2 separate regions of the Homo sapiens genome follow, and region 2 is linked to region 1. The links are contacts of gene promoters, found by promoter capture Hi-C in human tissues and cell types (Jung and others, 2019). All regions are on one chromosome and are shown on one strand. Each heading gives the region's core, a stretch centred on a gene start or on the middle of the fragment in contact. The rest is flanking DNA. Distances are from core to core; before and after follow the strand shown. Region 1 holds the start of WNT10A (Wnt family member 10A). Region 2 overlaps NHEJ1 (non-homologous end joining factor 1).

Region 1 (5,052 bases), core at 2,461-4,960:
TTCAGAGGAAGTTGTATGGTACAATGAAAAATGCCTTGTTTGCTAGCTTGACCTTGGTCAAGTCAGTTAACCTATCTGAGCACTTCCTATCACCTAATAGGGGTCCCTGATTGCTTTTTAGCACATTGTGAGAATGCACTTCCATCTTTAAACTGCTGGCCACATGTTACTGGTCCATCTTCTGTTACCAAGCCCTGAAGGCGTCTGGGCACTGCCTTCTATGAAGGGTGGGAGTGATTACCAGAAGGCACCATTGGGACTTCTAGCCTTATCTTCTTTGAGCCCAGAGATAGATCTGTGCTGTTGCCCTGCTGCCTGGGAAGGGGCCGGAAGTAGAGTTCCCACCACCACCCACCCCTGCTCATCCAGCTGCTCAGCCTCAGGCAGTCTGAGCCATCAAAGTCCCCTGCTGGCTGAATGGCAGGGGACATGTGGAACTGGGGAGATGGGGGAAGTGCAAAGAGGCACCCCAGATGTGTGTGTGACCACATCAGGAACAGGCGGAACACAGGCAGATGGGTGAGGAGGCCGAGTGGAAGGCCTAGGATCAGCCTGAGGCCACGGGCTCGGGGAACAATTCCCTTCCCTTTCAATGACCAAACACATTGGGAGTTTGGGGAGACTGCAGCAGCAAGCCATTCCCCCTTACCTTGCTGAGGGTTGGTGGCCTCTGAGGCCTGGACAATGGAATGAAGAGCCTCCTTATTGGTCTGTGGCTCCTTGGCGTTCTTCTTCAGCAAGACAAACTTCTCCAGCTGGGCACCAGGACTGGGCTGGGGCTGGACTGGGCTAGGCTGGGGCTGTGAGGGTCCCACCTGTTCTCACCCCCATGCTTCCCCGGCCCTTCCTCCCTGTGACCTTCTCCAGAGCTGCCACAGCTGGAACCATTCTCCAAGCTGCCTTTCATCCCCAGTGCTCCCCCGCCCCCCAGTGGCCCCTGTAATTGTGGTCTTAGGCGGCGGCTGCGGGGGCTGGGGCTGGGCTGAGGGCCAGGGCCCAGGGCAGGGCCAGGGTGGGGACTAGGGGGTGCTGATAGGGGCTTGGCCATGGTGTGGGTCATTTGGGGCTGGGACCCCAGGGGCAGACAGTCTCTGGGCCTCACCTACATACATGCCAAGGCTCTGGACCAACACAGACTCTCCCCTCCCTTCACTGAGAAGTGCTCTGACTTGGGCACTCCTAGACCCTCCTGACACCAGGGCAGAGCCACGCCTGAGTGCAAGCCTCAGTATCACTATTTGCCTCCGGAGGCTTTTTTGTTTTTTTTTAAGAAAGGGTTTTCTCGGTCTCCTTTGCACCTCTGTATTTCACAGACAGTGGAGGTGGGGAAGAAAAGAGACCCCCTCATCAGAGAGATGCCAAAGGAAACTAAATCAGCTCCTCAACCAGGTCAGCAGCGTTTCCCAAAAGGAGTCCCCACCAGAATCACTGGGGATGCTAGCTAGAAAGACAGACACCCAGGCCTTTCCCTGGAAAGGCTGATTCAACTTCATGGGGCCTGGAATCCGCATTCCCACAATGGCCCACCCCAGGGGACACTTGTGCTGCATCAAGCGTGGGAAATGCTAGTGTGAGCGCGTGATGGGGAATAAGGACATCTGTAAGCTGATTATGAGTCCCTTCCCTGTGTCACGTTCCTAATTCTTTCTGGGCCTCAGTTTCCCCAACAGCCAATAAGAATATGACTCTCCAGCTTGCTGGTGTCCTCTCTCATCCTGGGCTGGTGCCTGTCTCCTGTCTTGAGTCTGGTCCCACCCTTACCCTTACCGCTTACCCTTCCCAAATGCTAGTCCCAAGCTGTCCCCGTTTCTGCAGCATGGTAGGGAGAGTGGGGAGGGCAGGGGGCAGTTGGGGTCAAATAAGGCTCTAGCTGACGCAGTCTGCTTGCTGCCCCTGGCTGTTTTCCTGCAGTCCAGCCAGACTGCTCCCCCCCCACTGCCCCACCCCCACCCCCAGCAGCCTCAAGCCCTTAATTCCTGACAGCTGCGGTGGCTGCCGGCAGAGATGAGGGGGAAAGGAGGGGGGAGTATGCCGTCAGCCTGCTGTTGCTCAGGCCGCCCCCACCACCTGACAGTCTGGGGACAAGGAGGGCCCCACCCCCTCCTTCAGTTCCCCAGGGATGGGCAATTCCAGGAATGGGCCTTTTTTGTCTCTGAGCCCAGAGGCTCCCATAGTTTTGTTCCTAAGCCAGCAGGGGCTCTCTTCAGAGAGAGGGGCATGTTTGTGTAAAGGCTTGTGCCCATTTTACAGAGGAGGATGCCGAGGGCACAGGGCAGGAGCACGATCCACTATCAGGGCCCAGGCTAGCACCAGAAACAGACGGCAGAGCTGCCTTTCCCCTGCCCTCTGGCTCTCAGGCCCTTGCTTGGGCCCAGCACACTTGCACTATATCGAGGAGGGGCCCAGTGTTCAGTTGGGGTGGAGGGACAGGAAGATCTCAGCGAGAAGTAGACCTGAGCCAGGAGGCTGGTATTAGGGACCTCCTAGAGGACCATGTGCAGGTGGGGCCAGGGAGGGCCAGGACAAGACTGAGAGTATCTGCGGGCACAGGCAGGCAACACTCAGTGTTGGGGAGGCAGCTGCTGCGCTGGGAGTCAGGAGAGCTGCGTTCGGTTCTCGCTCTTCCGCTAATTTGCTGTGTGACCTCTTTGAGCCTCGATATTTTCTTGTGAAATAAAGGGGAGCTAAATAAACTATCTCAACGGCCACTTCTAGGGTTAAAAGTCTCTCTAACGCCTCCTCCCAGGACGTGCCACCCCGGGCGCTCCTACGCAAGCATTTTCTGGGGGCCTGACACTGCTGCCTCCCCGGGCTCACTGAGGAGACAAGGTGGTCCCCATGAGCCGCATTCCGCAAAGGGGCAGAGGAGGTCTCCGTGAGCAGGAGCAGGAGGCACCTGTTTAAGGTCACACAGCAAAGGGGAGAAGAAACCAGAGGCTGCCAAACTCCTCTGCAGGAGCCCACACCTGCCTCACACCAGGCAGGCCTGGGGGAAGTCCCTCCTCTGGCGGAGGAGGCGAAACACAGAGGCCAGCCCCTCCCCTCCAGCCCCTGCAGGTGTGTGTGTTGGGGTGGGATGGGGGCGCTCCCCAGCAGCTGCGTCTCTGCCAGGCACACACACCTCGCGGTAACACATATCCCCCACACAACCCAGCGCGCTCCACACACAGGCATCTTCCTGTGCACGCGCGCACAGACCCCAACACCTTTCCCTCTGTTGCCCTCAGCAGGGACGCTCCCACCCCCAGTCCCCAGCGGACGCAGTGGCCTCGGGACTCGTACACGCCTCCACGCCCCGCCGCGTGACGTCACGTGGGGTAGAGCCCTGAGACACTAAATGGCGGGGGGGTGGGGGGAGGAAAGGGAAGGCGGCAGAGCTCCCCGAGCCGGGACAGTCACTTACTCTACAGGCAGTGGGGCCCGACACAGACAGCGCCGCCCCCGCCAGCCAGCCTCGCACGCCCTCGGAAGCGCAGGCTCCCGGCGCTGCGCTGGAGGGTTCCCCGGCACCCCAGCCTCCCGTCCCCAGCCCGCTGCACCTCCGGGCCCCCCTTACCCTTGAGAGGCACCGGGAGTTGTCGCGGGGGGGCCTCGGGAAATTCCCCGGACCCCTGTGCCAGGAGGTGCCCGGTTCGCCCGCTCTTCACCCCCCGCCCCCCCCGAGGGCGGTGCCCGGGGGTGCTGCCCCATGGAGCGGGGAGGCGGGCGCCGTCTGCTCCGGGAGCCCTGACCCGAGTCGGAGCTGTGTGTCGCAGCCGCCCCGACCCCCCGCCGATCATGCGCCGGCGCCCCTGGCTCTCCAGTCCCACTGGGCTGTGAGCCCCCCACTCCCAGCCCGTCAGGGCCTGCGCGCCATGGGCAGCGCCCACCCTCGCCCCTGGCTGCGGCTCCGACCCCAGCCCCAGCCGCGGCCAGCGCTCTGGGTGCTCCTGTTCTTCCTACTGCTGCTGGCTGCTGCCATGCCCAGGTGAGCCCTCACCTCATGCTCCGCCCTCCTAGAGAGTTGGGACCCCGGCCTGCAGGGGCCTCTGATGCTCTTGCTGGGGTAGAGGACCCTGGAAGAAGGGAGGGACAGGGTCATAGGAAAGTGCTGGTGCCCAACCAAAGGCAGTGAGCTCCCTCATAGGAGGGGGTTGGACTGGTGACAGGATATGGGCAGTCCAGGGAGACAAGGCAGTGCCCAGGAGCATGATGGCAACTAGGAGGGGAGGTGTGTGTGGGGGGGGAGCAAGTGCCAGTCTGGAGTTCCTGCCCTGTTGGGGGAATGCACCCCCACCTCAGGAGTAAGCACAAGCTGCCTCACTCCTTCCTGCAGCTCAGCCCCAGGTAGGGGCAGGGGTTGGGAGGCTGGAAGGGGGTAGCCCAGGTGGGGTCAGTGAGAGACTGCAGCTGCAAGAGCTGTGTGTGTGTGTGTGTGTGTGTGTGTGTTTTCAATCGAGCCCAGGATCCCAGCAAACTGTGTTGGTAAACAGTAGTTTGTATGTGTGCCCATGTGTGCATGTGAGAGCTCATGGGTCAATGTATGTTAAGATGAACACATGTGTAAATGGGAGTGTCTTTGTGTGTGTGTCTGTAACTATGTCTGATGAAGTGTGCATGTGCGTAAGTGTGCTGGGGTTGGGTTTGTGTGTCCACCACAATGTGTGCAGAAGTGTGTCTATGTGAATGTGACTGAAACATATCTGTGGGAGTGGGCTTGTGGGGAACCCTGTGTGTATGGGCATCTATTCCTGGGGATGTGCATAGGAAATACTGTGGCCACAAGCATGGTGGATGTGTGTGCATTTGCACGCTTACCTGTGTGGGTGTGCAGCTAGCTGAGTGAGTTGCACTGGGCAGGATGATTGTGAGGAGGTCAAGGAGAGAGGAATGTGTAGGAGTGTACTGATGGGCCCAACCTTCAGAAGCAGAGGTTGGAAGAGGGAGTGATTATGGCCGTTGGGACAGAGTGTGTGTTGTTAGATGGGGCTCTCCTGGTCCCCCCAAAACACGTACCCACTCCACCCCATATGTCTGCAGGTCAGCACCCAATGACATTCTGGACCTCCGCCT
Region 2 (5,052 bases), core at 1,025-3,524, 260 kb after region 1:
ATCTTGGCTGACTGCAACCTCAGCCTCCAGAGTTCAAGTGATTCTCCTGCCTCAGTCTCCCAAGTAGCTGGGATCACAAGCCTGTGCCACCAAGCCCGGCTAATTTTTGTATTTTTAGTAGAGATGGAGTTTCGCCATGTTAGCCAGGCTGGTCTCGAACTCCTGACCTCTGGTGATCCACCCACCTCAGCCTCCCAAACTGTTGGGATTATAGGCGTGAGCCACCACACGTAGCCCCTACTTGGTTTCTTTATTTGTTTGTTTCTTTGAGATGGAGTCTTGCTCTGTTGCCCAGGCTGGAGTGCAGTGGCACAATCTCGGCTCACTGCAACCTCTGCCTCCGAGATTCAAGCGATTCTCCTGCTTCAGCCTCCTGAGTAGCTGGGATTACAGGCACCCACCATTGCACCCAGCTAGTTTTCTTATCTTTAGTAGAGATGGGGTTTCGCCATGTTGGCCAGGCTGATCTCAAACTCCCGACCTCAACTGATCTGCCCGCCTCAGCCTCCCAAAGTGCTGGGATTACAGACCTGAGCCACCGCACCTGGCCCCATTTGTATTTTCTATATTGATTTCCTTTTTTTTCTCTCTCAAAATTTTAACAATTTTTTTAAAAAATTACTTTAAAATTTTTAATAAATTTCCTTTTGAAAACATAAGCCCTTATAAGCCTTTGCAAAAGGAAAATAAAGAAAGAGGTCTTTTTAGCTCTTCTTGAGAAAAAAAAAAAAAAAAAGAAGTGGTAACCCCTGGTTACTACAGGATTCACAGTGAGAAAACCCCAAAGAGAAGGTGAAATTCAGAAAAAACAAAATATAGTTGAGAAACATGCACAGCCATACCTTCCTCCCTGGAGATTTTCATTCCAGAGCTCAAATACTGGTACATTCATATTTTCAGTAAGGAAAACAATTCTTTTATATGCCCACGGTTAAACCGACCCCACCCATGATCTTCCTAGTCTATCAATGGCATCACTATTCTTCAAATCACATAAGCATATGACCAAGAGCCTAATATTCCTAAAGATCACCTTCATATGTCAATTCTCCAGTCAAAACTTTCAATGGCTTCCCACTATCTGCAACAGTAATTAATAAGTGCAAGGAGAATGTGCCCCATCTCCCTCCTAGGAGATGTGTCCCCACTTGAGAATCACAGCACATAATGACAGTCGTTAACAATTGAACTAAATGGAGAAATAAATGTGTTACAGGCAAAAAAAAAAAAAAAAAAAAAACAAAAAAAACTGAAAACCACCTTCAGAATAAAACACTAATCTGCCAGCCCAACATTTAAGGCCCCCACAATTTAGCCTCAAGTTATTATCTTGCTAACTTTATTTTCTACTAATCCTCATCCATTCTTATTCTTATTTTCCATCCTTTGCCCAAGTGCTTCCCACCTAAAATGTCTTCCACATAGTTTTCAATCAAAGCCTAAATCAAAGCCCAGTTCACGTCCTGCCATTTATAGAAAGCTTTTTCTAATCACTCCACTACTATGGCCCTTATTATCATTCACTAAGCACTATAAGCTCTTTGATGGCAATATTATCATACCTTATATGCTCACAGAACCTCATTCAGCCCGCATGCACCTGACCGAATACCGAAAGGATGAATTAACTGCAAGTTTTTCTAGGTCGGAGAACTGACACACATAATAGGAGGGAGCATATTCTCATGCATCTAGACTTATCCTTTTTTACGATGCCCACATGGACACTAAAAAAAAACCACCCTGAATCCTATGGCTTTCTCTACATATTGAACAACAGGTACATGGTAAAAGGGTAGCCCTTCTAACTGTGGAAGTGGAGCCCTTGTGACTCTAAGACTAATTTTCTTTCCAGGATTTTGTTAGGTACTTATTCTTTTGACTTTTGAGGTGTTAGTCTCTTAACTGGCTCTAAAAAAAGAGAGGTTCTGGGATTTCTCAATAATAAAAGATTCAAGGTTTATATACACTTCATCCCGAAGTTGGGACTGCCTTTCAGAAAACATAAATGTCAAACAAATAAGGCAGGTGGTAGAATGGGAATATAGGCTACTCATCTATTTACATGTAAGGCTGCCTATGTCTAAGGCTACCAATAGGTGATTATTTGCTGGCCTATTCATAAGAGGAGGAAAATAAAAAAGAGTGGGAAGATATGATTTCTTCTTCTATTCAACAAACACTTATAGAGTGCCTACTATGTGTGGAGGCACTGTTCTAGGCACTTGGGCTAGACCAGTGCACAAAACATACATCTTTGTCCTTGTTGAGCTTACATTCTAACAGACAGGAGATAGACCATAAACAGTAAGTATAATAAAATAAGTAAATTTTATGGCAATATGTTGGAAACTAGGTGCTATAGAAAAAATAAAAAGTAGAGGATGGTAAGATGAAATGGGAGTGCTAAGGTGCAGGGGGGACAAATGGAGCTTACAACTTTAAATGAGTAGTCAGGGTAAACTCTATTGGGAAGGTAACATTTGAAAAAAGACATTGTTGTAGTCCATGTAGATGGATGTAGTCTATGTAGATATGTCTCCAAATTCTTTGACACAGCTCCCCTTAAGAGGTGAAGTTTAATTAATTACCTTCCACTTAAGTGTGACCCAGACTTAGTGACTCATTTCTAATAAAAAGAATACAGTGAGATAGTGATAGAATGTAACTTCTGAAATTAGGTTATAAAAGGACTGCAGGTCCATTTGGTCTTGGTTTCGTTTCTCATTTTCTTTTCTTTTTCTTTTTTTTTTGAGACAGAGTCTCATTCTGTTGCCCAGGCTGGAGTGCAGTGGTGTGATCTCAGCTCACTGCAACCTCTGCCTCCCGGGTTCAAGCAATTCTCCCACCTCAGCCTCCTGAGTAGCTGGGATTACAGGTGCATGCCACCATGTCCAGCTAATTTTTGTATTTTTAGTAGAGACGAAGTTTCACCATGTTGGCCAGGCTGGTCTTGAACTCTTAACCTCAGGTGATCTGCCCGCCTCAGCCTCCAAAAGTGCTGGGATTACAGGCATGAGCCACCCCACCTGGCCTTGGTCTTTGTCTCTTGGATCACTGGCTCTGGAGGAAACCAGGTCCTGTGAGTAGCCCTATGGACAGGCCACATAGCAAGAAATGGCACCTCCTGCCAACAGCCACATGAGAAAGCTTGGATATGAATTATCCGGATGTTACAATGACTGCGTTACCAGCTGACATATTGACTGCAACATCATGAGAGACACTGAGCCAGAATCACACCCACTAAGCTGCTCCCAGATTCCTGACCCTCAGAAACCATGCAAGATAATAAATGTGTTTTTGGTTTTTTGGGGTTTTTTGTTTTTGTTTTTGTTTTCTGAGACAGAGTCTCGCTCTTTCGCCCAGACTGGAGTGCAGTGGCACGATCTCGGCTCACTGCAAGCTCTGAGACCTCCCAGGTTCACGCCATTCTCCCGCCTCAGCCTCCCAAGTAGCTAGGACTACAGGCGCCTGCCACCACACCCGGCTAATTTTTTGTATTTTTATTAGAGACAGGGTTTCACCGTGTTAGCCAGGATGGTCTTGATTTCCTGACCTCATGATCCATCTGCCTTGGCCTCCCAAAGTGCTGCGATTACAGGCGTAAGCCACCGCACCCAGCCTGTTATTTTAAGCCATTAAATTTTGGGACAATTTGTTACACAGCAATGGATAACTAATACAGACTTTAAGGAAGTGAGGAAGTTGGCCACACAAATATCTGAAGAAAGAACATTCCAGGCAGAGGGAACAGCCAATGTAAAGGCCTAAAGGCAGTGTTAGAGTGTTAGAAAAACACTTAAGAGTGTTAGAAAAACAGCAAGAGGCCAGTGTGGCTGCAGTGGAGTGAATGAGGGAGGAAGTTGTAGGAGATGAGGTCAGAAAGGTAAGAGAGTTCTATAAGATCATATAGGGTTTTATAGGCCATGGTAAAGTCTTTGGATTTTACTCTATAAATGAAGTGTTAAGCCAGTGAAGGGCTTTGAGCAGAAGAATATCACGATGTGCCTTGCAACTTAATAAGATAGCTTTGTTGATAATAGGCCAGGAGGGGGTAGGAGTAGCTGCAGGATACAAATAAGGAGGCTTTTGCCATAATGCAGGTAGGAGATGATGGTGGCTCCAGTATGGTAGCAGCAGAGGTGAGATTACGGGCATAGTTTTAAGGTAAAGCCAACAGGATTTCCTGATGGACTTTGGCTGTAGGAAGTGAGAGGACAGCAGTCAGGATGACTCCAAGGTTTTTTCACCCAACTAAAAGTGAAAGAATGAACCTTCCATCAACTTAGATGGGAGGGGGTTGTTGGAAAAGTAAATCTGGGCATACGACTGGAAGTTCAATTTTGGACGTGTTGAATTTAAGATATTTTTTAAACTTCTTCATGAAAATGTTAAACAAGCAGTCTGGAGTTTCAGGGTAAGACCTACAGTGAAGAATAAATGTGAGATTCATCCACAAGGTGGTATTTAAAGATGTTATAGTGGAATGCCAGAGGAGCAGGCTGAAGATGTCAAAAGGATCAAATCATAAATGATCACGTGTGGCGTGCAAGGAGTTTGAACTTTATCCTGTAGGAAACCGGGAGCCACTAAAGGACTCTGAGCAAAAAGTGTCATAATCAAGTTTCAGTTTCAAAGACATCACTCTGACAAAACTACAAATTCAACTGCAGGGGAATAAGAACTGACCAGGAGACAAGTTAGGAGGCTGTTGCATGGTCAAGCCAAAAAAGGGACAGAAAGGCCAGGAACAGTGGCTCACACCTGTAATCCCAAAACTTTGGGAGGCCAAGGCAGGTGGATCACCTGAGGTCAGGAGTTCAAGACCAGCCTGGCCAACATGGTGAAACTCCATCTCTACAAAAAATACAAAAATTAGCTGGGCGTGGTGGCTCAAGCCTGTAGTCCCAGCTACTCAGGAGGCTGGGGCATGAGAATCTCTTGAACCCAGGAGGCAGAGGTTACAGTGAGCCGAGATTGTGCCACTGCACTCTAGCCTGGGCAACAGAGTGAGACTTGGTCTCAAAAAAAAAAAGCAGGGGGGGAGTG

What was found. The method cuts DNA at HindIII sites, captures the fragments that hold promoters and counts their contacts. A contact is called where the count stands out against the background at its distance.
Region 2: a contact is called between a fragment that was not itself captured here and the fragment with the promoter of WNT10A in region 1, in 1 of the 25 tissues and cell types used here (aorta).

The regions. Positions count from the first base shown.
Region 1 is chr2:218,877,142-218,882,193 of GRCh38, forward strand. WNT10A (Wnt family member 10A) reads left to right here and starts at 3,711. Exons shown (of 4, transcript NM_025216.3): 1 at 3,711-3,967; 2 at 5,020-5,052. The coding sequence starts at 3,855. RefSeq lists silencers at 3,137-3,196, 3,417-3,626, 3,647-3,786. The HindIII fragment of the contact is 13,021 bases long and covers 1-5,052 here.
Region 2 is chr2:219,136,353-219,141,404 of GRCh38, forward strand. The region is part of intron 5 of NHEJ1 (non-homologous end joining factor 1); the gene reads right to left. Among named protein-coding and RNA genes, the nearest start is that of NHEJ1, 22 kb to the right of the region's middle. The HindIII fragment of the contact is 4,149 bases long and covers 201-4,349 here.